Linked DNA regions of Homo sapiens: all the other regions are linked to region 3. Evidence: promoter capture Hi-C in 16 types of primary human blood cells and fetal thymus (Javierre and others, 2016). All regions are on one chromosome and are shown on one strand. The core of a region is centred on a gene start or on the middle of the fragment in contact, and the rest is flanking DNA. Distances in the headings are between cores, read along the strand shown. Region 1 overlaps ABCC5 (ATP binding cassette subfamily C member 5). Region 2 has its middle 13 kb from the start of MIR4448. Region 3 holds the start of VWA5B2 (von Willebrand factor A domain containing 5B2). Region 4 overlaps LINC01839 (long intergenic non-protein coding RNA 1839). Region 5 overlaps ABCC5 (ATP binding cassette subfamily C member 5). Region 6 overlaps ABCC5 (ATP binding cassette subfamily C member 5). Region 7 overlaps PARL (presenilin associated rhomboid like).

Region 1 (3,795 bases), core at 787-3,286, 260 kb before region 3:
ATATTCAATTAATTCAGAGGTTTTCAAACTGGAAGTTGCATCAGAATTACCTGCAGGGTTTGTTAAAACAGACCTTTGCGCCCCACCCCTAGAGTTTCTGATTCAGTAGGTCTGGAGAACAGCCTAAGAATTTGTGTTTCTAACAAGTTCCCAGATGATGCTGATGCTGATGCTGCTGATCTGGGGACATGGATTTAAGGACCTCTAAAGTAATTAAACCATTCACCAAATCTGGTTTGAGGGATTTAACTGAAATCAGCTAAATAAAGGTGCCAATCCCAGAGACCTTCAGGGCAATTCATGGGAGACAAGTTTTAACACTGAAGAGCACAAATTAGTTCCAAAGACAAGCCTCTGGAAACTGCTGCAGGGCAGAGACCCAAAGAAATGTGGATTTGTTCTAAGGGCTCTTTCTAATAGAAAAGGGCTCTCTACAGACTATCTGAGTTAAGGAGGTTGGCAAAATCAAGTTCAAGGAAGATGCTCAACATGCACACGCTTACTTGTAGTTTTAAAAATATCTGGATAGAATAAAAAACATCAACTCTGAGTCAACAATGGGATTTTGTTTACAATCCCCAAGACACAGAAAATACTTACAACCTTAAAACAAGCAGTGTTAACATCCCTGCCCTAATGGACACATGCTTTCCTAACACAAAGGCCTAATGACAGCCTAACTCCCTGTGAGGCTCTTCTCCCAAGCATTTCAGTTGCACTCCCAGGAGCAGCTCTGGCCCAGCTCTGCCACTCTGCTAAATGCCTGGTCAGGGGCGGAAGGCCTGTACCTCCGTCAGGTCGCTGCTGGGAAGAATGGCCAGGTCAGGCCTCAGGCAGCAGCTGTTCAGCACAGAGTTGTATCTGGAGGACACAAAGAGACAGCGTCAGGGACACGGCGGGAGCAGAGCCTGCTGACTAGGGCTGCCTTGCATCTCACGCGGCCAAGATGGAAAGCATGACAGAAGCCAAACATTCCTTGCCTTTCTTCATCATATTCCTTCCCAAACAGGATGTTGTCTCTCAGAGTAGCATTGAGGATCCAGGCCTGCTGGGCCACATAAGCGAAGGTTCCACTGATTGCAATGCTGCCCTCTAGAAGCGTCATCTAGGGAGAGAGACACCATCCAATGGCATCATAACTCAAAACCATCACCCTATGCCAACGGAACCCCCACCTTCCACAATGGAATCTAGCTCTGGTAATTTCCCGGGATGCTTTTTGGACCCAAATCCAGATTCCACCTTTAATTCCAAAGAGAGCTAAGCAGCAAAGAAAATCAAAGTTCTCCTTGCTTATGTGTGATGGGAGCTCAGCATAACCCATAACTTGAAGGCAAACACTTCCCTCTGCAGCCCATTTGCTGTGTGCAAACTGTTTAAATTAGGAGAAGCACAAGCAAGAGGTTCTTGCAGAATTCTCCTGGAGAGGATGCTGTAGGGGTTTCCAGCTAATCCCTGCCTCAACATGGGGGCAGGCCAACTCATCCAAGGCAATTACCTAGGATGCTGGCTAGACCAGTTGCTTCTATGAAATGAGGACCAAGGGAAAAAAAAAGTCCAGGTTAGACATCACCTAGTATTTATAATATATACACAGTGTCCATTTACCAATGATGGACCTTGCCTGCCCACAAGCAGTGATGAACCATGTGCTTTGAAGTTTGTGTTCAGTTGCAATGGTTTGATATGAATTGACTTATCCATTTTACCCCCTTCCATGATTTCTTTTGTTTGGGACTGATAGTAGACATTTGTCTTGGTTTAGGGATGCTACAGCTTTGAAGCAAAGTTTCACTAACCAGCCTGTGCAGTACTTGTTCATATAAGCTGGTCTTCTCAAACACCCTCACACAGCGTGTACACACACAGGTGTACCTACGTACACCACAAACTGGTAGCATTCTGATGTGCACTTCAAAGGGTTCAGAAGTCCCCAGGGGGTCTACTGTGGAAAGCCGGCACTTCTGGCTGCTGCACAAACACCGCACATTGCAGCGCTATCAACAGATGTAAACTACAGTTAAAGCAGGGCTGACCAGCCCAACCCGTTTCCCTGCCAGAGACAGGGTTGCCAGGATTTGTCCAGAAGCAAAGCCTGACTTGGTTTTCAACCTAACCACTGCCTAGTCAACCCTGGAAAAAGGAGCACATTGCTAGATGGCAGAGCAGCACTTACGAATTGACCTTTTCTTTCCTTCTCCCCCTCCCCCCATCTCTGTCTCTCCTCACTGGCCCTCCAAATCTGGTTGGTCATCATAAATCACCTAGGAAGTCTGGTGCTTTTTACAAGACCAATGGCTGGGCCCAGCCACTGGAGAGTGTCATAAAGCAGAAGGTGGAGGTGATGCCTGCCATGATCTGACTCAGACAGCCCCAGGCACCACCACCCTCAAGGAGGACCACAACTCACCAACTGTGACAGCTGATGCCAAACAAGACAAGAAAGCATTCCATAATCTGGGGGCTACAAAAGCACCCCTGCTCCCCCTCTGTTTCATTTCAATTCAGTGGACCTTATCCATCAGGGTGTAGAGATAATCATAAGTTTATGCTCATCTCAACCATCTAAGTCAAGTTAATTTAATTCTAATGTAAAAGCATGTGGGCACCTTGTTTTTTTTTTTTTTCTGGATTGTTTGATTCTAAAACACAGCAATGATAGTGTGTCTCAGTGGGATGACTCCGGCCCCATCCTGTCCCTCACTCTCAGCACTGGCCACCGTGTGCTGGGCCCTGCACGCTGTTCACTCCCTGCCTGGAGATGTGCTTGTTGTGTTCTCAAGGCCTTGCTCCCCACTGGACCATGAACTCCCCAAGGGCATGACTCTTTCAGGGATTAGGCAGAAAACAGAGGGGCTTTGCTTCTAGATCAAACCCTGACAGTCCTGTCTGACAGAGAGGCTGGGAGTGCTGGCCGCCCTGCTTCTTTACAGGTTAACTCTGTTGGCAGCGCTGCAGTGTAGGGTGTCTGCTCATCTCTTATCTCTGACATTTTCAATACACGGGCATACCTGTGGCACTCAATAGATACATGCTGAATGAAAGAAGGCATGAGACCAAATGGTTCCAGCTGGGACAACAGTCAGTCATCCATCAGGCGCCCACCAGGCCTCCTTCCAGGCAGAAGGCTGTGAAGGGGGAGAACTGGGGGGAACTGCGGGGGATTGGGGGCATACAATGCAGGCTGAGGGTTCATTTGTTTCCACCTTTCCTGACTCTCCAGGAAATTTGTTCGTTTTTCCTGAGACTCTTGCAAACCAGAGAAAGCAGCAGAAAAGGACAATAACAAAAATCTTACCTGGCCTAAAATGGCTGAAATGAGAGAGGTTTTTCCACTTCCCACACTGCCACAGATTCCAACCAGTTTACCCTGGACAAGGCACACAGAGAGGAGGGTCATTTAGAGACTACTAACCACTCATCGCTAAGGACTTGAGGAAAAACACATTAACTGTAGTCTACCCATACAGAACTGTCACCCTGATGACTCAGCAGGCCACTTACCTGTTTTCTCACTCATTAGCTGCCTATCTCATGGGTTTCTGTGGAGACACCTGAGATAACAGGAATGGAAGCCCTTTGGGGAAAGTAAATATGCCGCACACATTCCAGTATCCCACCGTCATTCTTAGGCCCAGCCTCTTTCCTATTCTGCTGCTAACCCATGTTCTTCATTTACTTGTTTTTGTCATTTTTTAGAAGACAGGGTAGGGCTTTTAAAAATCATTTTATTATTATTATTATTATTTTGAGATGGAGTCTTGCTCTGTCAACCAGGCTGGAGTACAGTGGTGC
Region 2 (3,928 bases), core at 1,367-3,866, 330 kb before region 3:
GGATTAAGTAACCTCTGCATTGCAACGGTTCTTACTAATCACCTTCAGAGGAGGAGGCTCCTAGCAAGATGCTCTTTTCCCTCCAGAATTATTTGTGTCCTTTTTTGGGTGATGTTCTGGCCTCCTTGCAAAGGAGGTTCTCAGCTCATGGAACAGGTTCAGAGCACAGCCTATCCAGTATGCAAAAAGGACAGCGCCCCGCCCCCCGCAACAACCGCCCTCCACTTCCCCAGACTGTAGAACCATCTACCTGCTGGGTACCTCCTGGGGTCGCTGTGCCAGCTTCTGCCCAGTAAATGGCAATTTGGAATTCGCAATCAAATAGAATGTCTGAGAAGAGAGACAGGCTGGAAGTGCAACCGTCGTATCAGGGACTATTGCTGTTGTCACGATCACTCAGCTGATGAAATGGTTAGGAACAGTTTAGGAATATCTGTAACATTTAATGATCTACTGTCAAGCTTTGATTCCACTTTCAGCAGACATCTCTCGTCCAAGTTGTAAAAGCTCAATATTGATTTCAGCTCGTTAATGGGCCCCTGGAGCCTTTATCACAGAACAAGTCCTAGAATCAAATTGGCAGGAATGAGCTCTTAATAAGGAAATTTCTAATCCCAAACGGCATAACACAGAGCAGTACCCTGGCCCCCTCTTTTTAACTTAAGTTGGCACAGCTTCTAGACAACCTGGGCCTGGGTCCTTCTGCCACGCCAGCAGCAAGATGACCTGATGCCCTGGTCCTATCCACTTTCCCAGAGACTCTTGACAAACCTGTAAACTTGCTGGCCAATTTCTGCCAAGGACAGAATGACAGTGTAAAACATCTCCATTGAACACATTGGTTCACTTACCTAGAGTGGCATTTTCGTATAAATACAAACAGCAGGGCATATGGTAGGAAAAGAAAACACTTTAGAGTCAGAGGGACATGCATTTGAAACTCAGCTAAGTCACTTACTAGCTGTGTTTGGGCAGTTTCTTAAGCTGCCTATGCTGAAGTTTCTCTATCTATGGAAAAGAAACAGCAACAAAGCGTCCGAAGGATAGGGCTTCTGTGAAGAAAAAAATCTGTGGAGGAAGGAACCTCAAGTCTGGGCAAATTAATAATAAGTTAATAATGGGGCTGGGCATGGCGGCTTATGCCTGTAATCCCAGCACTTTGAGAGGCAGAGGCAGGAGTTCAAGACCAGCCTGGCCAACCTGGTGAAACCCCGTCTTTACTACAAATTAAAAAAAAAATAAAAATAATAAAAATTAGCTGGACGTGGTGGCACGTGCCTGTAATACCAGCTACTTGGGAGGATGAGGTGGGAGAATTGCTTGAGCCCCGGAGGTGGAGGCTGCAGTGAGCTGAGATCACACCACTGTACTCCAGGGCAGTACTCGGGGCAGAGCCAAAGCTCCTTTCCGAGGAAAGTCTCAGGGCTCCCGCCACCACCTCTATGTACAGAGGCATCACCCTGCACCAGGGCACCAAGATGAGTCGCTCTGTTTCATTTTCATTAAAATGGCAACCTCACCACCTACACATGTTGGTATGTTACCTGTTGCGGGAAGTCAGGGACCCCGAACGGAGGGACTGGCTGAAGCCATGGCAGAAGAACCTGGATTGTGAAGATTTCACGGACATTTATTAGTTCCCCAAATTAATACTTTTATAATTTCTTATGCCTGTCTTTACTGCAATCTCTAAACATAAATTGTAAAGATTTCATGGACACTTATCACTTCCCCAGTCAATACCCTTGTGATTTCCTATGCCTGTCTTTACTTTAATCTCTTAATCCTGTCAGCTGAGGAGGATGTATGTTGCCTCAGAACCTTGTGATAATTGCATTAACTGCACAAATTGTAGAGCATGTCTGTTTAAATGATATGAAATCTGGGCACCTTGAAAAAAGAACAGGATAACAGCAATTGTTCAGGGAATACGAGAGATAACCTTAAACTCTGACCACCGATGAGCCGGGTGGAACAGAGCCATATTTCTCTTCTTTCAAAAGCAAATGGGAGAAATATCACTGAATTCTTTTTCTCAGCAAGGAAGATCCCTGGGAAAGAGAATACGCGCCTGGGGGTATAGGCCTATAAACGGCCCCCCTAGGTGTGCCTGTCTCTTATGGTCGAGGCTATAGGGGTGAAATAGACCCCAGTCTCCCATAGCACTCCCAGGCTTATTAGGAAGAGGAAATTCCCGCCTAATAAATTTTTGGTCAGACCAGTTGCTCTCAAAACCCTGTCTCCTGATAAGATGTTATCAATGACCATGGTGCCCGAAACTTCATTAGCAATTTTAATTTTGCCCCAGTCCTGTGGTCCTGTGATCTTGCCCTGCCTCCACTTGCCTTGTGATATTCCATTACCTTGTAAAGTACTTGATGTCTGTGACCCACACCTATTTGCACATTCCCTCCCCTTTTGAAAATCCCTAATAAAAACTTGCTGGTTTTTGCGGCTTGTGGGGCATCACGGAACCCACCGACACGTGATGTCTCCCCCAGACGCCCAGCTTTAAAATTTCTCTCTTTTGTACTCGTCCCTTTATTTCTCAAGCTGGCCGACGCTTAGGAAAAACAGAAAAGAACCTACGTGACTATCGGGACAGATTCCCCGATAGTTACCCCAGTTAGCCTTGACTCCCAGGATACACACCTTTGTGTAATCCCCTCCCCTTGAGGATAGGATGGATTTAGTAACTCACTTCTAACAAATAGAAAATGGGCCAGACGCAGTGGCTCATGCATGGAATCCCAGCACTCTGGAAGGCCAAGGTGGGAGGATCACTTGAGCCCAGGAATTTGAGACCAACCTAGGCAACATGGTGAAACCCCATCTCTACCAAAAATTTAAAAATTAGCCCATTGTGGTGGCACAATGTGGTGCCTGTAGTTCCAGCTACTCAGGCAGCTGAGGTGGGAGGATCACCCAAGCCTGGGAGGTTGAGGCTGCAGTGAGCTATTATTGTGTCCCTTCACTCCAACCCAGGCAACAGAGGGAGACACTGTCTCAAACCAACAACAACAACAACAACAAACCCAACAAATAGAATATGGCAAAAGCGGCCGGGTGCGGTGGCTCACACCCGTAATCCCAGCACCTTGGTAGGCTGAGGCAGGCCAATCACTCGAGGTCAGGAGTTCAAGACCAGCCTGGCCAACATGGTAAACTCCATCTCTACTAAAATATACAAAAATTAGCCAGGCATGGTGGCACATGCCTGTAATCACAGCTACTCGGGAGGCTGAGGCAGGAGAATTGCTTGAGCCCAGGAGGCAGAGGCTGCACTGAGCTGAGATTGCACCACTGCACTCCAGCCTGGGGTGACAGAGCGAGATTCTGTCTCAAAAAAAAAGAATATGGCAAAAGCAATGGGATATCACATCTAAGATTAGGTTACAAAAAGACCATTGCTTCTATTTTGGGTGCCCTCTTGCTTGCTCTCTCTGATGGGGTTCAGCTGCCATGTTTTGAGCTACCCTATGCAGAGGCCCATGTGTCAAGGAACTGAAGGTCTCCAGCCAACAGTTCATGAGCAACCGGGTCCTGAAGACCTCCATGTAAGTGAGCTTGAAGTGGAGCCTCCCCTAGGGGAGTCTTCAGGTGACACTGTAGCCCCAACAACAACTTGATGGTAACCTCATGAGAGACCTTGAGTCAGAGGCATCCAGCTGAGCCACACCCATTTTCCTAACCCTCAGAAACTGTGAAATGATAAATGCTGTTGTTCTAAGCCACTAAGTTTTGGGGTAATTTGTTACACAGTAAGATAGGTAAGTAATTCAACATCTGTCATCTAGGATCTGCAAGGCTCCGTCAACAATACAGAGCACCATTGTACCGAATGACACCGTGGGCACAAAGCCCTCAGCACACAGCAAGCCTGGGCAAAGAGCAGGTGTCCTCATGTTATTGTCCAGCTCACGTCAAA
Region 3 (3,717 bases), core at 635-3,134:
CCTGTCTCTCCCTCCATTTGCCTCAGCTAAGGAGACCTTCCTAGCAAGATCTCAGGGTTGGTCCAGCTTTGCAGCAAAGTTTGACTTCTGCCAGTGTGTGTGTCTGGTCTCTGATAGGGATGCTATCTTCCTGGGAGGCTGTCTTACATCTAAGCTCTCCTCAGGACCAAACAGAAGGACCTCTTTTTCCATTTCCATGTGTCGGAGACCTCCCTAATGACTGCTATTTGCAACCTCATGTTTGTCCAAGGGCTACATGTAGCTCTTGGTTCATTTGTAGAAGGGGCAGAGCACAAGGTGCTTGTGGAAAGGTGGCCACTGCCTGGACCTTTGTGAGGCCCTCAGGGCCAGGGCTGGTCCTACCTGAGGCCCTGGATCACCTGGAGGGACCATCAGCCCATCCACTGTTTCTCCCTAGGCCTGAAAGAGGGACCCTCGTTCAGGATGAAGCTGAGAACAGACTCAGTAGAGAAAGGGGGAGAGAGGTGAATGGAACCATGACCCAGGTAGTATGGAAAGAGGGCTAGGACCCAGCTGGAGCTCCCTGTGTGTTGGGTACGTGTGACTGTGTCTGTGCTCCCTGTATCATTCCTGTGCATTTCCACCCATGAAATTCCCTGGGAAAAGGTCAAGCTCTCTCCACCATGCTAAGTAGGGTGAGCAAAGGAGATGGTTGGGGTTGAGGGCTCAGATACTCAAGGAGGCAGGGATCCCCCGGGGGGATGATCCCTGGTGATAGTGATTGAAATCAGAAGGAGAGAGTTAATGCGGAGGAGTGAGAACCATGGGCCCGACTCGAAAGCTCACTTCCTACTGGCTGTCCTCCATCCCCAGCTCTCCTCAAGCTCTCTCTGCAGAATCTCAGTATGGCATCTGCCAAAAAGCTTACATGGATGATCCCCAAACATGGTCATCTCCTCTCACTTCCCCAGGGCTCTCAGACTCTTCCTTGGGGGACCTGGGAGAGGTTTTCCGGACCTTCCTACTTTTTGACAGCATAACACTGTCAAGCACATGCAAAGTCTGCCAATAACAAGGGGCCCTCCTGACAAGCAGAGATGTTTTCTCTTCAGGGCTGCGGTGATGGGTGGGGGTCACTGCTATGAGGGGACGGTCTGCAGCCATAAGAAGGCTCTTCAGGCTAGAAGGCTTCACTCCCAAGGCCCGCACAGCTGAAGAGACCAAGGGGTTATAGGCTGAGGGCGCTATTGTGCACACCCTCCCACCCCAGCAGAAGTGGTTGGCACTGCAGCGATGCCAAGGCCGGCTGCTTGGGGGTGGGAGGAGGTCGCTGCAGTGATGAGGAATCCCTGCTTGGAGTGAGTGGTCACTGAAGTGGCTGCATGAACTAAAAGTACCTGCAGGGATGGGGGAGGTTTTCTGCAGTGATGAAGAGCACTTTGCAAAGGAAAGGGGCCAGCTTCTTGGGGGAAGAGTCCTGCGGTGACGGTGATGGGGGGCTGGGGGGTTCGCTGCAGTCAGGAGGGAGGGTCTCTGCAGCGATGGGAAGCAACCCAGGGCAGGGGGTGGGGTGGGCTGGGGAATGGGATGCCGTCGTGGTAATGGGATAGCTGGGGTCGCGGCAGTGTCGGTGGCACTTGCAGGACGCCTGATTCCTGAAGAATGGAAAGGGTGGGGTCTCTGAGGCCTCGGTCCTGCAGTGACGGGGATCCGTGCGGCGGCGGGGACGCGGTCCCTGCACTGCGGTGCCCAGTCTGGCTCGGGCTGCCGCGGCTGGCGCGGAGGCGGTACCGCGCCCGAAGGAGGGGGGAGCGCCAGCCCCGCCGCAGCAGCAGCAGGCGTGGCCAGGGCAGGCTGGAGGGGCGGCCTCTCGGAACGGGGGCGGGACCACCGCCGGCAGGGCCCGCGCCCCTGCCGGGACTCAGAGCCGCTGCAGCCACAGTCACGAACTGGCGGCCGGCAGGTGCCGGGACCGAGGGCCACCCGGAGCGCAGAGGCGGCACCACCCACACGGATCCCGTGGGCACCTAGAACTCCGCGGAGGGCGCGACGGTGAGGCTGAGACTGCCACAGGGAGCGGGGCGATCCCCAGAGCCAGCCCGCGGCATCCCCTGCGCGGGCCGCGGCCACTGCAGGTGCCCCCTCCTCCCACATCAGCTCTGCCGGGGTAGGGAGCGGTAACCTGGCGGCTCCCACGGACTCTCCCTGGCCCGACACCTCTCCCGGGCTTGCCTCCCAAAGACCCCCTCTTTTCGCTTTCCCAGCTCGTTCTTCCCACCCTTAACCCCTCCACTCCGGCCAGCACCCCCGTCGGATGAGGCACCAGGGAGAGAAAGACCAAGGCCCTTTCGGCGCCCCATCCACCCTGCCCCCGCGATCCCTCGCAGGGCCGGGGGCCTCCGGGGGGATTCGGGCCCTTTAAACCTCCGCCTTCCCGGAGCATCTTCCATCTCCACCCGCGCCGCTTCCGACAGCTGGCGGCCGCGGGGGGCCCCGGGGGGCCGGCAGGTACGGGGGTGGCTGCGAGGTTGGGAGTGGGCGGTGGAACAGCTGTGACCGCCCCCACCCCCGGGGGAGCCGCGGCGGGACTGCTGGGCGCCGAAGCGCGCGTTAATCATTAACCCTCCGCGGCCCGGCTGCCCAGGTAACGCGTGAGGATGCCCTCCTCGCCACCACGCCTGCCGCCCCCTTATCTCCCCCGCCACCTGTCGCCCTCAGGAGCTCCCGCTCGGCCTCGCGCCCCGGCAGGCCCCGTCCGGGTGCTGGAGTGAGACTCTCGCGCTGGCCTCTGGAGCGCGGGGTGGGCGTCCCGTCACCCTGCGCCCAGCTTCCCCGGCCCGTTCCCGCAGGGCCGGCCTCCCGGCGCCATGCCCGGCCTGTACTGCCCCTCCAGCTGGACGCCGCTGCCGCTCACGGACTCCTGGGTCCGGGCCTGCGCCAACGGCCCCTGCCTCAGCGTGCGGGCCCGGCTCACCTACCGCAACCCGCAGCCGCAGCCGGTGGACGGTGAGGCCCGGGTGGGGCGCGGGCGCGGCGGGGGGTGCGCCGGGCAGGGTCCGACGCCGCCTCCCGCCGCCCTCCCCAGGCGTGTTCGTGTACCCGCTGGCCGAGGCCGAGGTGGTGTCCGGCTTCGAGGCCGAGGCCGCCGGACGGCGCGTCTCCTTCCAGCTGCAGAGCCGGCGCCGCTCGCAGGCCGCCTGCTGCCGCGCTCTGGGCCCGGGGCTGGGGACCCCGACGCCCCGCCGCTGCGCGCAGGGTGAGTTCCGCGCGCCCGCACCCGCGCTCCTGAAAGCCGGGCGCAGCTCAGGCTCCCGCATCCGCTCGGCCTCCGCCCGTCCCCCGCCTTCCTCCGGGCACTGCCTTGTGCATTCATTGGCTCATCCTGGTATTTAGCAGTCGTGGGCTGGGCACCTGACCTGCGCCAGGTGCTGGGAGAACATGGCCCGGAGGTTCACAGCCTGGGAGACAGACACAGCAGGCAGCACAGGGCTTGCGGGGGCGCCAGCAACCCTTACAGCCCAGGAGACCGGTCTCTCTAGGGGGCTGCAAAGGGAGCCTTCTCCCCTGGTGGTCCCCTCCGGCCCCTTACTATTTTAGGCTGCACACCTCAATCCGGCCCCGCGTGGGCCAGTGAATCAAGTGTAGACTCCTGTGCCTAGCAGCCAAGGCCCTCGCTCTCACCCCATTCCATCCCTCTCCCAGCGACCCCATACACCAGGTACCGCTGCCGCTGGCCACACTGACTGACAGGTCCTT
Region 4 (4,008 bases), core at 1,112-3,611, 300 kb after region 3:
TCTCCAAAGGTTCTAATACTTTTTGTCAAACTGGAGAAAACTCACTGTAGAGGCCATCTTCCCATGACCCCAATCTGCATGTTGATACAAATCATTAAATACTTTTAAGGATTATAACTGAAAAGGTTTACAATTAAAACCATACGTAAAGGTGTTGTTTTCCAATTATGAAAGTAAATCCTGGAGACTGCTGAAATTTTATAGAAATCAAGTATCTAGGAATAAATGTAACAAAAGATGTTAGATATATATGAAAAACTTTATTGAAGGATTTTGAAGAAGACCTAAATAAATGAGACATATTCCATGGTTATCAATAGGAAGACTCAATATCATGAAGATGTCAGTTTCCCTAAATTAACCTAGGAAGTCATTGTTTAAATCAAAATCCCAACAAAATGTTTATAGAACTGACAAGCTAATTCTAAAATATGTATGAAAATGCAGAGAACTCCAAATAGTTGAGATAGTCTTGAAAAAAAAATGTATGAATACATGCTCATCCAGAAATCAAGACTTATTATCAAGTTATAGTATGTGAGAGTGCAGTATTGCTAGAGGACAGAACAATGTAACAAAATAGAGAACCCAGAAACAGACCACCACTTACTGGGAAATTTGATTTATGGCAAAGCCAGCATTGCAGATGACTGGAAAAGGATGAGCTGTCCAATAAATGCTTTGACAATTATTATCCAAGGAGAAAGATGATCTCTCCACCACACCTTTACAAAGAATCAAATCCAGATAGATGTAAGACCAAATATAAAACGACAAAATTTAAAAACTTTTAGAAGAAAGTGTAGGGAAACTTATATCTTGGAAGAGGAAAAGGTACTTTAACCATGTCAACCAAAGTACAAACTTTAAAGAAAGAGGTAAATTAGAATATGTGCAGATGTAAATTTTCTGTGTCTTGAAAGACATCACAAATAGTTATAAGATAAGCCATGGAGTGAATGACAATATTTGCAACTCATCCATCTGATGAAAGATTAAGATACAAAATTTATAAAGAATTCTTAAAAACCAACAAGAAAATGTCAACAACCAATAGAAAAATAGGAAAAAGTTATGATCAAGACTTTACAGTATAAAAAATACCAATAAACATAGGAACAAATGCCTGACCTCTAACCCCATGGTAATTAGGGAAATGCAAATTTAAACCATGAGAAGTAACCACACCCATTACACTGGAAAAGAACTGACGTGATGAGAGGCAGTGTTGAGGGCTGGGAGTGTTACTACAATGACTCATCTGCTGCTGGCAAGATCGCTTTGGAGAACGACTGGGCAGTAATTTGTAGCACTGAAGTTAGGCATCCCTTGCAATGTCTGTGGCCAATGCTAGGTGCACTCCATAGAAACTCACATGTGCACAAGAAGACACAGACCAGAATGTTCATCGCGGCACTGTTTGTAATAAGAACAAAATGGAAACATTCTAAATTTTCACAGCAGGAGAATGGATCAATACATTTAGTATGATATTAACAAGTCTACTATACTGCAGTGAAAATGATTTTTTATTTCTTAAAAAACAACAAACATATGTAGTGCCATGTGCCAGGCTCTGCTCTACGTTTTTGAGAAATATTAAGTCATATTTACTGAATGAACCAGAGCCAGATTCATCAACATGAGTCGACATGGATGAATCCCCAGAGCACCAAGTTGACTTAAAAAAGCAAGTCAAAGGAGTGTGCATAATACTTTGTCATATATGTCAAGTTTGAAATACTTATATAATGTTTAGGAATCCACTCATATGTAATAAAGATAGTGAGAAGTCACCTCAGGGATGAGGGTGAGGAAGGTGGTGAAGAGGGTCCCTAAGGGGCTTCAGCAGTGAGGTTGCTCCATTCCCCATGATTATTGATGGGTAAGTTCTTCTCTATACCTTGATATGTATCTGAAATAGTTCATAAAAAAGTTTTTTCAAAAGAAAAAAAAAGCACCCATTCCTATTTAAAATGTATTTCTTCCAGTCTTTCCACTATGCTTAGTTTATATACTTGTGATTATCTTGTGTATACAAACTCACCTTGTGCCTTTTACAGAATGAGAAAATTTCCTTATACTATCGAAAACTTTTCAGAAATGTTATCAATGACAGAATGATATCACAACTGTGGATACACCATAATGTATTTATCAGTGCCCAACTAGTTGATTCCAATTTTAGATAATTTTTTTTCTCATTTTTCAGTGCAAAGAATGTCTGTGTCCATAAAAGCTTTGGGGGAATATTTGGGATTATTTCTTCTGATGCATGACCACTACTAGAACCACAATATCAAACAGTGTGAGCATTCAAAGACTCTAACTCTGTATTATTACATTTTGCCAAAACAGCTAGACCAGTTCCGCCCCCCTCCCCCGTCCCTGACTGTGCCCGGATCACTCCACTTCCTCTGTAGCTCTGTCAGCCCTAAACAGTTTCCTTTTAAAAAGCCCTTACTATTTTGATCGGTGACAATGGAAGCTTATTTGTATTGTTTTGAGAACACCCCCCACAAACGCACGTAAAACCTCTATAAAGGGAGAACCGCCTTGCTGCTGAGGGCGCGGTGGGACCCGTCGCAGGGCCAGCTGCTCCGGCAGGTGCCCCCAAAGGGTCCCGCAGGTGATCCTCGGGGACTGAGCGCCCATCGCCCTTCCTACGCACTCAGATCCGCCGAGCCCAGCGCCCGCCAGAGCCCAGAGAGTCCTCGGGGTCAGAGTGGTCACGTCACCGTCATTCTTTTCCTGCCCGACTAGTCGCTCTGGGCTCCCCGGGGCCGGGGGCCGGGGGCCGAGCCGCCGCCCCGATTCCGGCTTCACCCGCCCGCAGCGCGCGGCGCCCCGCGCTCCATTCGCGCTACCTGGCGGCTGGCAGGCTGCCCCACCCCACCGCGGGCCACACACAGCCAGGGTGGGACCCCGGCCGCTTTCTCTTTCCCAGGGAGAGGACTGGAATTTGGGGGGGAGGTGGGAATTGAGGAAGTCGGGAAGGGAGGAGTAGAGAGGTGGGTGAGAAGGGGGAGGATGCTTCTAGAAGGCGGGTGAGGGAGCTGGGGAGGCCAGGAAGGGGAGGAAGGGGTAAGAGGTGCGGGAGGGCCTAACGGGGAGACTCCGGGGGCAATCAGTGGGTATTCACAGGGAGCTGGGCGCGAGCATCAGCGGGATGAAAGGCAGGTCAGGGCTTGCCCGTCAGGTCCGGACTGCGCCCTGGAGGGGCTCCCAGTAGAGCCTGCGCAGGAGCGCGGGGAGCGCGCAGCCCAGGCCTCTGGCCAGGTGGAGCAAGAGGAGGGCGGAGGTGGACAGCGCATCTCGCCCGTGGAGGACGGGCAAGGACGCCGCCTGCCCAGCTGTTGGAGTCTCCTGGGCACGGACTGAGGGGGAGGGTCTGAAGAGCCCAGAGATCCCAGAGGGACCAGCTTCTTGTTACAGGGAAAATCCTCACCACCGAGAGATGCAATGAGTGAATCACGGTCTAGCCCTGTTTGGGAGACTCTGTGGCCATTAAAAATGGCGATGCTCCCCAGAGTGTGTGGGGCACAGGAATCCTCTAGGGGGCTTACGAAAATGCAGATTCCGGTTCGGGCCTGACATTCTGCTCTTCTCACAAGCCCCCTGGCTCCTGCTATTGATGTAGAGCTAGCTTTAGATTGTACGGTAAAGGGAAAACCAGTAGGTGTGGGATGAGCCCATTTTGGTTCTTTGAAAAATGTGTTTCTTACACAAACACACAAACACATATACATATGCAGGAAATAAGATGCAAAAAACAAGAAAACACCAACTATGTTTTTCCCTAAGAGATGGGATTCTAGTCGATCTAAATTTTCTACTTTTTGCTTATCTCTATTTCCTGAATTTTCTTCAGTAAACATACATTCCTATTGTAAGAAAAAAGATTCTCGCAAAACCGTAGAAGTTACTTATTTCAAGGAGAGTGTAGGAGTCAAGGGAAAGCCTCCTTTGAAGGTTTACTAAAAATCACTGACAAAAGGCAGATTAACG
Region 5 (3,909 bases), core at 1,410-3,909, 280 kb before region 3:
TGGCTACTAGCAGCAGCCTGGGGAGGGAAGTGGTGTTCAGACTACCTTTTGTCTCAAGGAACTATTCCACAAAGCTGCCTTGGGGGCCAAAGGAAAACCAACACGGGCAGACATGAGGCCTTCCACCCCTCCACCACAGCAGTTTTTACTGAAATTCTTTGAGATAGGATTCTACCATTTGATAATCATTGGCTTAAATCCAAAGGAAGAAAACTAATATTTACTGAACATCTGATTGGATCCTGGCATTCTGGCATGTCTTGGTCAATCCAGGAGACACAGACTCTAATTCTAATTTTGCCACTGTGTGACCTGGACAGATCACCACTTCTTCTGCATCTTAGTTTCTTATCTGCAAATTGTGGGGACTGGATTAGATGATCTTGAGAATCTATTCCAGCTCAAAATGCTGTGATATAACTGCTTGGGTAATTTTTATCATCAACAATCATATCTCATGATCTTTTAAAACTCTCTGGCAATTGGCCATGGAGTATATAGCCTTATGGGGGGAAGTAAGGGCCAAAGACTGTAGCACTCTGGGGGGTTAAGCCTAAAGTCTAAAACTCCAAGCTGGAAGGACTCTGTGTTGGGACAGTCAGTGGGAGGGCAGGCCTCTGAAATGTGACCGGTTTCAGCAGGGTCCACTTTGTACCACCACTGACCGTAATCCTAACCTCTCCAGCACAAGGCTCTCGCCAACCATAACATTAACTCAAACACTGCACATATGTACACACACGGGTCATCTACACACCAGGACAGTGTGCAAAGAGGCTAACTTCTAAACATGAAAGAAGAGCTATTACTAGATACACTGGGCAGCCACCTGCCATCCTTTCTGAGAATAAGAAAGTTATTCATTTGTAAGCTTAAGAAATATTCTACCACTAATGAGGCTCACTGTCAAAACAATCAGTGAAGCACATCTCTATTAGAGAATCCAGTTTACGTACACTCAGTTCCCAATTGAAAGAGTAATTTTTCAGGCCGGACACTATGGCTCCTGTCTATAATCCCAGCATTTTGGGAGGTGGAGGCAGAGGCAGATCGCTTGAGCCCAGGAGTTTGAGACCAGCCGGGACAACATGGCGAAACCTATCTCTACAAAAAATACAAAAATGAGCTGGGCCTAGTGGCGCATGCCTGTAGTCCCAGTTACTTGGCGGGGCTGAGGTGGGAGGATCACTTGAGCCTGGGAGATCGAGGCTGGACTGAGCCGTATTCATGCCACTGCACTCAAGCCTGGGTGACAATAAGACCCTCTCTCAAAAAAAATAAAAAAATAAAAAATAAATTAAAAAAGGAAAAAAAGAAAAAAAGCTAACTTTTCAAAACTATGTTTCAAAGTCAAGTGTTGGGAACTCAGAATATACTCTTCACATATAAACAATGACACAGATGCTTGTAAAGTCTCACAGCAGTTCAATAAAATAGATAACTCTTAAGAATTGAGTTCAATTTGAGAATCTAACTACTCATGATGCTGCTTCTTTATAAGCAAATTTGTCCAATCTGTGGCCCTTGAGCCACATGCAGCCCAGGACAGCTTTGAATGTGGCCCAACACAAATTCGTCAACTTTCTTAACATATTATGAGACTTTTTTTTGCCATCTTTTTTTTTAAGCTCATCAGCTATCGTTAGTATTATTTTATGTGTGGCCTGAGACAATTCTTCTTCCAATGTGGCCCTGGGAAGCCAAATGATTGGACACCCCTTGATGTGGTTTGGCTCTGTGTTCCCACCCAAATCTCATCTCGAATTGTATAATAATCCCCATGTGTGAGGGGAGAGGCCTGGTGGCAGATGACTGAATCAGGGGGGTGGACTTCCCCCTTGCTGTTCCCGTGACAGTGAGTTCTCAGGAGATCTGGTTGTTTGAAAGTGTGTGGCACTTCCCCCTTCTCTCTCTCTCCTGCTCTGCCATGGGAAGATGTGCTTGTTTCCCCTTCACCTTTCGCTATGATTGTAAGTTTCCTGAGGCCTCCCAGCCATGCGTCCTGTTAAGCCTTCGGAACTGTGAGTGACTTAAACCTCTTTCTTCATAAATTACCCAATCTCAGGTAGTTCTTTACAGCAGTGTGAAATGGATTAAGACATCCCTGTAGGAAATTGTTTAAGAGTGCCAGTTAGGACAGCAGCAAGATGCCTGCCACCCACGGCAAGACGGAAGGGGTTCCTGGGGAAAGGTGGGAAGAGCTGGATACTCTGGTATCAATTAAATTTACTCGTTTGTAAGTTGGGAGAGCAGTTTAGAATTCGCTATGGAGCTTTTCAAACTATAGAAGCCTGGGTCCCACCCCAATCCACTGCAACAGAATCCAGAGATGAGGCCACGTTTGTCCTGCCAAAAGCTCAGCAGGGGGTCCTGATGGCCATCCCTGATTAAGAACAATTGGACATAGTAAGAATTAAAACAATACATGGTTTTAAACAGTGTAAGGAAAATGCTCCATTAGTCAGTTAAGCTGAACTGACAAGGTTCTGAACATTCTGGAAATTAGCCAATGAAGTTCTCAGCTCGACATAATTTACAAATATACTTAGAAACTCTTACGGTAATCTCTTTCCCATTCCAAGCACGGTTGAGAGATTGCTGGAGATTCTGTGGGATTAGATAGGCAGAGAACACAAGCCTCCTCCTTGTACACCCAGCTGAGGCAGCAAAGGGTAAACCGACTCCAAGAGGAGTCAGATCACGGTAAAAGGCCTACAGCAGTCTGACCTTAATGTAGTGATTGATCCTCTCCACCGAGGTGAATCGAGCTTCTGTCTCAGATGCCAGTCTGACCGTAAACTGGAACAGCCCCGTTAACTGATAATGGAAAACAACAATCAAAGAGATAATTCATTATCAATACACGCCAGGCCAATGCTGGAGAACTTCCTTCATCTAGAGGACTACTAAGAACTGAGCACATGCAGCAGCTGGTCTTAGGGACCTAGTCATTCTCTTGGCTTTTAAGGCATACCTGTTACCCCATCAACTGCAATGCTCAGTGAATGCGGGCAGTATCATGGCACTGCTGGAACCACTTCCTTGTACCCAAAGCCTTTCTATTCATCTTTACATTTCCAATAACACATATCTGCAACTGATTCACTTCTGGACTTCCTACTTGTATCTGAGCCTGTTTGTGGGAGTCACAACAAATGGAGATATCAACCTATGAGCAACTAGTAAGAATGTTTCCAGGAAAGTCAAATCAGATACATAATGCTGGGAAATGAGTGAGTCTGGAGCCCCTGTGCTCCATAGACTGCGGAGTCTAAAAACAGTCTATATAATGCATTGTCTTCCCCAACCAGTTGTCAAGTAAATTGCAAAATGTGGCTGGACATCTCGGGGTATCTGTGAAGACACATATCTCTGGGGTTCCTTTGACTATTTATTTTTATCTTTTCAATAAAGAAAAATGTCAAACACACAAGAGTAGAAAGAGTAGTATAATGAACTCCCAGGTACCAAAACTCTACCATAAAAATGATCAACTTACAGTCAATATTGTTTCATCTGTATTCCCTTCCATTCCTACCCCCACCCCCCATATTATTTGGAAGCAAATCGCAGAGAGCTTATCTCATCCAAATATTTCAGCTTGTACCTCTCTAAAATATAGACTCCTTAAAAACATAATTCCAATACCATTATTTTAGAGGGTAATAATAATCACTCAACATCTTAAAATATCTAGTCAGTGCTCAAGTTCTCAACTATTCTCTGAGCTATTTGAAGACCCTCAATCACCCCTAGGGGCTAGAAGGTTTTATGTATATAACAGTATTGGGAAAATCAGGGCCCTGAGAAGAAAATGCACGTAAGAAGCATATTGAGTCTATAACATTTCTTAGAAGACTAGAAAGAGGCCAGAGATGAAATGGTGGTGAACACAGAAACCCACAATTA
Region 6 (3,882 bases), core at 633-3,132, 310 kb before region 3:
TGAATATGGAATAAATACAATAATCAAAATATGACTCTCCCTAAAAGTGAAACACACAAGCCAATCCGGAACTGCTGTGCGAAAGATAAAATCGAGAAAGGCAAGGTTTCGGTAGGAGGACGCGATGAGGGGCCCGCCCCAGGCAGGGAATGGCAATGCTCTAAAGAAAAGAGACTTCGTCAACAGGGAGGAGTCAGCCCTTGACAGCGACCTTGTTCTCTGCAGCAGCAAACATGGCATAGAATCGGGAACTGTCGTTGGACAGAAGGACCGATGGGGTGTCAAACTCCACCACCTGCAAAAGAAGGAGACGCCGTCAGGACACAGCTCTGGGTCATGCAGGGTGATTCAGAGGATCCACGGCTCAGTAAGTGCCAGTGCCCTCTGAGGGTAGAATCTGGGGACAATTCAACTAGCCCTGCGTGCACCTCCCCCCTTATTTTTTTATTTTCAACTATCCAGGGAGTAAGGGAAAGGACAGAGAAAATGACTTCCAGCATTTTTGTAGTATGTGGTTTTGCCTAATAAAGTAGTATCATAGCAAAAAAAAAAAAAGAAAACGACTTCCAGACCTCCTTCACATAAATCCAAATTCCTTCAGCCTTGGGAGTGAAGGAACCAACCAACCAGGTCTATAAACTGCAGGAGGCTGGTGGCTCACGCCTGTAATCTCAACACTTTGGGAGGCTGAGGTGGGCAGACTGCCTGAGGTGAGGAGTTCAAGACCAGCCTGGCCAACATGGTGAAACCCTGTCTCTACTAAATATACAAAAATTAGCTGGGCATGGTTGGCGGGTGCCTACAATCCCAGTGACTTGGGAGGCTGAGGCAGGAGAATCGCTTGAACCCAGGAGGTGGAGGTTGCAGTGAACTGAGATTGTACCACTGCATGCCAGGCTGGGCGACACAACGAGACTCTGCCTCAAAATAATAAATAAATAAATAAATAAATAAATAAATAAATAAATAAATAAAAAACAACAGGCTGGGTGCGGTGGTTGATGCCTGTAATCCCAGCACTTTGGGAGGTCGAGGCAGGCGGATCACCTGAGGTCAGGAGTTCGAGACCAGCCTGACCAACATGGTGAAACCCTGTCTCTAGTGAAAATACAAAAATTAGCTGGGTGTGGTGGTGCATGCCTGTAATCCCAGCTACTGGGGAGTCTGAGGCAGGAGAATCGCTGGAACCCGGGAGGCGGAGGTTGTGGTGAGCAGAGATCGTGCTATTGCACTCCCAGCCTGGGCAACAAGAGCGAAACTCCGTCTCAAAAAAATAAATAAATAAATAAACAAAATAAAATAAATAAACTGCAGGGGAGAGAAGTTGCAGCTCAAGTCAAGGGCACACCAGACAAATGCCATTTTGTTATGCAAGCTGATCTAACCTTATAGAGGGAAATGGAAGAGCTCAGAATGTCTAGTTGTCAGGGGAGAAAAAGGAAGTCAGGGAGTGACTTAGTCAGGTGGCCATTCCTATGATGGACTTCTATGTAGCCGTGGAAAATCATGTGGCAGCAGAACCCTGAATGATACGCTGGCAGAACCCACCTCCTGTGGCAGAGGCTGAAATGCATGTACTCAACTTTCTCAGCCGCCCCCGCCACAGGGCAAAGGCATGGAACATAACCTTGTTTAAGGAGATGTAAGAGGAAGTCTCCTTGGTGCTTTAGGAGAGGGTGTCCTGCTCAGTGGACAGGCCACAAGGAGAACATAAGCGTGTCCTTCCTTTGGACACGTGTCCTTCCTTTGGTTGGGTGCTTGAGCAGGCATCCTGTACCAGCAGGGGAAGGTGAGTACTGGCTGAGAGTGATACAGAGCCCCACACTGCTGAGCTGCACAAAAACCAACCCATGTGGGATAACAAAATCCCATCCTCCAAACCCCTTTTAGTCTGGTATTTTGTGTCTGCGGCAGAGAGCATCCCATCTGTTGGAGTCTGTGTGTGCAGATGCAAGAAAAACACAGCTGGGGTAAGTCAGTGTATTACAATGCTCGTCTCTGGGGGTAAATGGCTTATCATCCTGTTTTTGCCTTTATGCTTTTCTGGTGTGTGTGTGGTTTTTTTTTTTTAGGCTTTCCTGAAATTACAAGGAAATTTTAATTAGCAAGAAAAAAATTAAGGGAAGAGAAGGATAGAGTCCCTCATAAAGAGTGAATGGGCTCCCCACTCCAAAACATCAAGCCACCCATCGAAAGAAAGGGGTCTCAATTTGTGTTCTTAAGAAAAAATTTCCAGCTGGGCACAGTAGCTTGTGCCTGTAATCCCAGCACTTTGGGAGGCTGAGGTGGGCGGATTATCTGAGGTCAGAAGTTCGAGACCAGCCTGGCCAACATGGTGAAACCCTGTGTCTACTAAAAATACAAAAATTAGCCAGGCATGGTGGCACATGCCTGTACTCCCAGCTGCTCAGGAGACTGAGGCAGGAGAATCGCTTGAACCCCGGAGGCGAAGGTTGCAGTGAGCCAAGATTGCACCACTGTACTCCAGCCTGGGCGACAGAGCGAGACTCTGGCTCAAAAAAAGAAAAAAAGAATTTCCCAGAAGATGTTCTTGGTCCCATCTATTATACCTTACTAGGCTCTATTTTAACACCTACTTACAAAGTAGTAGCTCAACGTATCTTATGTATGACAGAATCTCAGTCAACACTTAGTTTAAGGCAAACAAAGATAGTCACAAAAAACACTAGTGTGAAAATAATTTCAAGATGAGGAGAAAAATCCTTAGCCCCCAAGTTCTCTCAATTCAGCTTTGAAGCCCAGGCTGAACCTGCGCTATTTAACCTTTTCTCAATATTTCTCCACAATTTAGACAGTGTGCTGGCAGTGCGGTTGCTGGCCTGAGTCCTGTCCCATCTCCTCCGCTTCCTTTTTTTTTAAATCCCACCAATTTTTACTGTTTGCTTTTTTTTTTTTTTTTTTTTTTTGACATGAGGTCTCACTCTGTCACCCAGGCTGGAGTGCAGTGGCGCTATCTCAGCTCACTGCAACCTCCGCTGCCTCCCAGGGTTAAATGATCCTTCCACCTCAAATTCCTTAGTAGCTGGGATTACAGGTGTGTGCCACCACTCCTGGCTAATTTTTTGTATTTTTGGTAGAGACGGCGTTTCGTCATGTTGCCCAGGCTGCTCTTGAACGCCTGAGCTCAGGCAATCTGCCCGCCTCGGCCTCCCAAACTGCTGGGATTACAGGCATGAGCCACCGTGCCCGGCCTACTCCACTTCCTATGGACTTTCCCTGAGACTTTGTCTCCTCATGTGTAAAGCAGAATCCAGGCTATGTCTTTCTCTAGGTTGTTGTGATGACTGATGGTATGTTGAGAGATTATATGTAAAGCACTAAGCACAGTGCCTGACACACAGTAAACATTCAGTAGAAGTAGCTATTATAGTAGCTGTCACTGTGGGAGCTTCTACAATAGAAGACATGTTACCCATTATAAATGGCTTGCTATTTCCTCCAAATTATTAATTTACTTGTATCCTAGGGGCATGCAAAAGAGGTATTTGTCTAACATAAATGTACTTAACATCACCTGTATAAAGAACTGTAGTACTAAGCACTGCTGGGGCCCTAAAGATGAATGAGCGGTGACTCTGCCCTCAGAGAGCGTTCAGGGAGTTCTCTAGGGAGACAGGGCATTGCACAATTCCTATCAACTGAGACAGAAGAGCTACAAGAGAGGTACAGATACAGTCTAGGGCGGCTGAGGCAGCCAGGGGGTTTCATGGAGGCTTTGGCATCTGGGCCATGTCATTCTTCAGGGACAGGCAGGTTGAGAGCAGGTGGATATGGGAGAGAGAAGGGCAAAGGGCCTTTTAGGTAGATGGAACTATCTGACTAAAGACAGATAAAAAGCTTGGAGAATGCAAGATGTCTATA
Region 7 (3,863 bases), core at 264-2,763, 400 kb before region 3:
CTTGTAACCACAATGCCATTTGCTGTGACCCAAGGAAGCAGTTTAGCAACCAATTCCATATGGTGTGGTGGGGGTGGAAAGGGCTTATAGAGGTGGGTTTACAGCTCTGCTCTGCTATTGAAGAGCTGTTTGGCCTGGGGAAGATGATGTCTGAGCCTCAGTTTCCCATCAGTAAAATGGGAGTAGTAATAGTATAACATAAGGGAACTAGCTTGGTGCCTGCATACAGCGGGTACTCAGTAAGTGGTCCACATTGGTTTGCAGTCACCGGCCTCTACTCCAGTCATACAGAGCAATGGCTCCGCCAACTCAGCATGTCTAAATAGCACTGGCGAGACAGAGGTCAGGGTAGCAGGGTGGGACGCCAGGCAGGGGAGAGGAGGGCAGGAAAGTCTGAAGGGGAAAAAGAAGATGTCAGCATAGACTGGGGGCCAGGCTGCAGTCTTCTAAGAGGGGGCTGGGAATAACAGGCCAACAGTTGGGGCAACTTAAGGTTAAGCGTAGGGTAAAGGCACAGACTGTCTCTACAATGAGCCAGGTATGCTGGGTAAACCCAAAGCAAGCCACGTTGAGGTTTCCTCACCCTCCCAAGCCCACCTGCTTCTGCTTCCGTTGCATAGTTCAATGTCTCTGCCATGGGGATGGGGGGTAGGGGTGAGGCTGGGGTAGGAGGAGCGCATGACCCAAGGAAGCAGTTTAGCAATCAATTACACTCAAACTTACATTCCAAAAAGAGCTCCCCCAAGATGTGCCGCATGATCAAAAAATTTCCATCCCAGGATCATTCCTGCTGTATCCATGGCGATAATGGCTTTCAGGGCCTGAAAGGCAGCAAGAAACAAGCGGCACAACTGTGATTGCTCCAGCACTGACATTTCTAACTTAAGGGCAAGAACCCACTCAACATAAAAACATCACCACTATCCCCAGCACTGCACTTCATAAAAATACTTACATTCCCTGCTGTGAACGTGAACATCGGAAGGAAAATAATGGCAAGCCTCCCTTCTGGGATCTTAGTGCAGACAGCTGCGAGGACTGTCATGATGGCACCAGACTGCAAAGTAACACAGCAGGGAGAATGGGAAACTCAATATGCAACTGCTTAGTGGCTACAAGGTCTAAAGAGCAGCACATTTTCTAGAAAGTTTACATGCTGCACATTTCTAGGTGAGCACAAAGCTTCAAAGCTTTCAGTTACTTATGTCCCCAATAATAGGTGAAGGAACTAAATGTCCTTCACACAGTAATCGCTTGGAAAGACTGAATTTTTACTACGGGGCAGTAAGATGTATGTGCCTCATGAACCGCAAGGACAGTGCTAAGCGTGTCATGCGCATCTTTCACCTATGGCCTAGGAAAGAACTGCTCACACTTCTCTGACAAAGCTCCAACCAGAGGGAGTGGGCATGAATACGCCCAAAGAAACCTGCATGCATGAAGCATGTTTCATCTTAAAAAATTCATGTGAAATCTTTATTCATCTTCATAAAGAAACAAAACATTGCCAGTGTGGTGGCTCACGCCTGTAATTCCAGCACAGTGTGAGGCATGAGGATCCCTTAAGCCCAGGAGGTCAAGGTTACAGTGAGCTATGATTGCACCACTGCACTCCTGCCTGGGCAACAGAGTAAGACCCTGTCTCAAAAATAATAAAGGAATAAACTGATACACAGAACATGGATGAGTCTCAAAGTAATTATACAGAGTAAATGAGGCCAGGACAACAAATACTAGTATATGCTGTATGGTTCCATTTGCAAACTAATTTATCTTTAGTAGAAGTAGGTAAGTTGTCGCCAGGGGTAGAGGAGGGGCAGGAAGGAGTGACCACTAGGAAGCTTTTGGGATGAATATGTCCATGATCTTGAGTGTGGTGATGGTTTCACGGGTGTCTACATGTCAAAGCTTACCAAACTTTAAATATGTGCAGTTTTTTGCATGTTAACTAGTAAACCTGAGTTGCCTGCTTTTTAAAAAGACTACATGGGGCTGGGTGCAGTGGCTCTCGCCTATAATCCCAGCACTTTTGGAGGCCGAGGCAGGTGGATCACCTGAGGTCAGGAGTTTGAGACCAGCCTGACCAACGTGGTAAAACCCCGTCTCTACTAAAAATACAAAAAAAAAAAAAAAAAAAAAAATTAGCTGGGCGTGGTGGCGGATGCTTATAATCCCACCTACTTAGGATGCTAAGGCCCGAGAATTGCTTGAACCCGGGAGGCAGAGGTTGCAGTGAGCCGAGATTGTCCCACTGCACTCCAGCCTGGGTAAAACAGCGAGACTCTGTCTCAAAACAAAACAAAACAAACAAACAAAAAAGACTTTATGGGAGTCCTCTGTACTATTTCCTGCAACTTTCCATAAGTTTTTAATTATTTATGAATGAGATGTTTAAAAAAAAAAAAAAGACACCTAAGAGCAAAATAACTTTTGAAAGAAGCCCCTATCATTAAAAAGAAAGGTTCCTACCTTTTCATATAAAAACGGTTGTTTCTGGAAAATAGCATCTACCTCTCTTAATCAATGTTTTCTTAATGTCTTCTATGTGACGGGTTGCTTCAGAATACAAGATTATCTTACATTTGGGGAATTACTAAAACTTTAAAGAAAATTATTATGAGTCCCAGAGATCTCAGATGTCCCCAGTCCCTCATATAACTGCCAAGTGGCCTCAACAGGGAAACAAGCTCGGGTTGCATTCTTAGAAGTCAGGGTAACTGCAAGATGGAAGGACAGCATGAACACTCCTCAAAAGGAGGACCCAAGAAGACCTGAATTTTGACCAAGCTGGCTTCTGTGCAAGAGACTATAATTGTAGCCGGGCACGGTGGCTCACGCCTGTAATCCCAGCACTCTGAGGGGCCGAGGCAGGTGGATCACCTGAGGTCAGGAGTTCAAGACCAGCCTAGCCAACATAGTGAAACCCCGTCTCTACTAAAAACACAAAAATTAGCCAGACGTGGTGGTGGGCGCCTGTAGTCCCAGCTACTCGGAAGGCTGAGGTTGTGGTGAGCCAAGATTGAGCCACTGTACTCCAGCCTGGGCGACAGAGTGACACTTTATCTCAAAAAAACCCCAAAACAAATCAAAATTACACGTTTCCCCAAAATGAAGCAAATATAATTTGATTAGTTGATATGAAAGAGCATTAAAATTCTATGAAGTTCTGCCAGGCACAGTCGCTTACACCTGTAATCCCAGGACTTTGGGAGGCTGAGGCGGGCAGATCACCTGAGGTCTGGAGTTCGAGACCAGCCTGACCAACATGAAGAAACCCAGTCTCTGCTAAAAATACAAAATTAGCTGGGCATGGTCGTGCATGCCTGTAATCCCAGCTACTCAGGAGGTTGAGGCAGGAGAATTGCTTGAACCCGGGAGGCAGAGGTTGTAGCGAGCCGAGATCGCACCTTTGCACTCCAGCCTGGGCAACAAGAACGAAACTCCATCTCAAAAAAAAAAAAAAAAAAAAAAAAAAAAAATTCTATGAAGTTCTTCTAAACTACTATTCCATAGATGATTATTCTCCATCTGTTAAAAAAAATTGTCGTTATCTGTACAATTCCATGGAACGCTGGTTTTTTTGTGATTATAACTTATTGTAATTATTACATACACAGTTCCATCATCCTTCTAGAATTTTCTCGATGTGGCTTTTATATAAATTTAAATATTTATATGTCTGAATAAATCACAACTTGTTTTTTGACAAATATTTGGGCTTACTCCCATGCAGAGAGACTTTTTTCACTTTTTCGAGTCAGAAAGAAGAATTTAATGAAAATGAACCCTTCTCTTCTCAGAAAACGCTCACATTCATACACAGTTTAAGTACAGTGAGTCATGAACCCTGATCCAACAGACCT

The links. The method cuts DNA at HindIII sites, captures the fragments that hold promoters and counts their contacts. A CHiCAGO score of 5 or more calls a contact.
Region 1: a contact is called between a fragment that was not itself captured here and the fragment with the promoter of VWA5B2 in region 3, in 2 of 17 cell types (M2 macrophages and M1 macrophages). The highest score is 5.7, in M2 macrophages.
Region 2: a contact is called between a fragment that was not itself captured here and the fragment with the promoter of VWA5B2 in region 3, in 16 of 17 cell types (M2 macrophages, M1 macrophages, M0 macrophages and 13 more). The highest score is 21.6, in M2 macrophages.
Region 4: a contact is called between a fragment that was not itself captured here and the fragment with the promoter of VWA5B2 in region 3, in 1 of 17 cell types (naive B cells). The highest score is 6.0, in naive B cells.
Region 5: a contact is called between a fragment that was not itself captured here and the fragment with the promoter of VWA5B2 in region 3, in 1 of 17 cell types (M1 macrophages). The highest score is 5.6, in M1 macrophages.
Region 6: a contact is called between a fragment that was not itself captured here and the fragment with the promoter of VWA5B2 in region 3, in 3 of 17 cell types (M1 macrophages, M2 macrophages and M0 macrophages). The highest score is 10.9, in M1 macrophages.
Region 7: a contact is called between a fragment that was not itself captured here and the fragment with the promoter of VWA5B2 in region 3, in 1 of 17 cell types (erythroblasts). The highest score is 5.5, in erythroblasts.

The regions. Positions count from the first base shown.
Region 1 is chr3:183,964,397-183,968,191 of GRCh38, forward strand. It overlaps ABCC5 (ATP binding cassette subfamily C member 5), which reads right to left. Exons shown (of 30, transcript NM_005688.4): 12 at 3,299-3,370; 13 at 981-1,105; 14 at 789-861. Among named protein-coding and RNA genes, the nearest start is that of ABCC5-AS1, 40 kb to the right of the region's middle. The HindIII fragment of the contact is 6,780 bases long and covers 1-3,795 here.
Region 2 is chr3:183,897,871-183,901,798 of GRCh38, forward strand. It overlaps the pseudogene CYP2AB1P. Among named protein-coding and RNA genes, the nearest start is that of MIR4448, 13 kb to the left of the region's middle. The HindIII fragment of the contact is 4,315 bases long and covers 460-3,928 here.
Region 3 is chr3:184,227,701-184,231,417 of GRCh38, forward strand. VWA5B2 (von Willebrand factor A domain containing 5B2) reads left to right here and starts at 1,885. Exons shown (of 20, transcript NM_001390846.1): 1 at 1,885-2,013; 2 at 2,680-2,967; 3 at 3,047-3,217. The coding sequence starts at 2,829. RefSeq lists a silencer at 1,653-1,992. The HindIII fragment of the contact is 8,832 bases long and covers 883-3,717 here.
Region 4 is chr3:184,522,775-184,526,782 of GRCh38, forward strand. The region is part of intron 6 of LINC01839 (long intergenic non-protein coding RNA 1839); the gene reads left to right. Among named protein-coding and RNA genes, the nearest start is that of LINC01840, 32 kb to the right of the region's middle. RefSeq lists enhancers at 2,222-3,026, 3,027-3,829. The HindIII fragment of the contact is 249 bases long and covers 2,238-2,486 here.
Region 5 is chr3:183,943,123-183,947,031 of GRCh38, forward strand. It overlaps ABCC5 (ATP binding cassette subfamily C member 5), which reads right to left. Exons shown (of 30, transcript NM_005688.4): 24 at 2,728-2,817. Among named protein-coding and RNA genes, the nearest start is that of MIR4448, 58 kb to the left of the region's middle. RefSeq lists an enhancer at 1,783-1,872. The HindIII fragment of the contact is 3,580 bases long and covers 870-3,909 here.
Region 6 is chr3:183,921,107-183,924,988 of GRCh38, forward strand. It overlaps ABCC5 (ATP binding cassette subfamily C member 5), which reads right to left. Exons shown (of 30, transcript NM_005688.4): 30 at 1-295. The coding sequence ends at 194. Among named protein-coding and RNA genes, the nearest start is that of MIR4448, 36 kb to the left of the region's middle. The HindIII fragment of the contact is 3,947 bases long and covers 1-3,856 here.
Region 7 is chr3:183,832,769-183,836,631 of GRCh38, forward strand. It overlaps PARL (presenilin associated rhomboid like), which reads right to left. Exons shown (of 10, transcript NM_018622.7): 8 at 956-1,057; 9 at 724-821. Among named protein-coding and RNA genes, the nearest start is that of MAP6D1, 9.1 kb to the left of the region's middle. The HindIII fragment of the contact is 651 bases long and covers 1,189-1,839 here.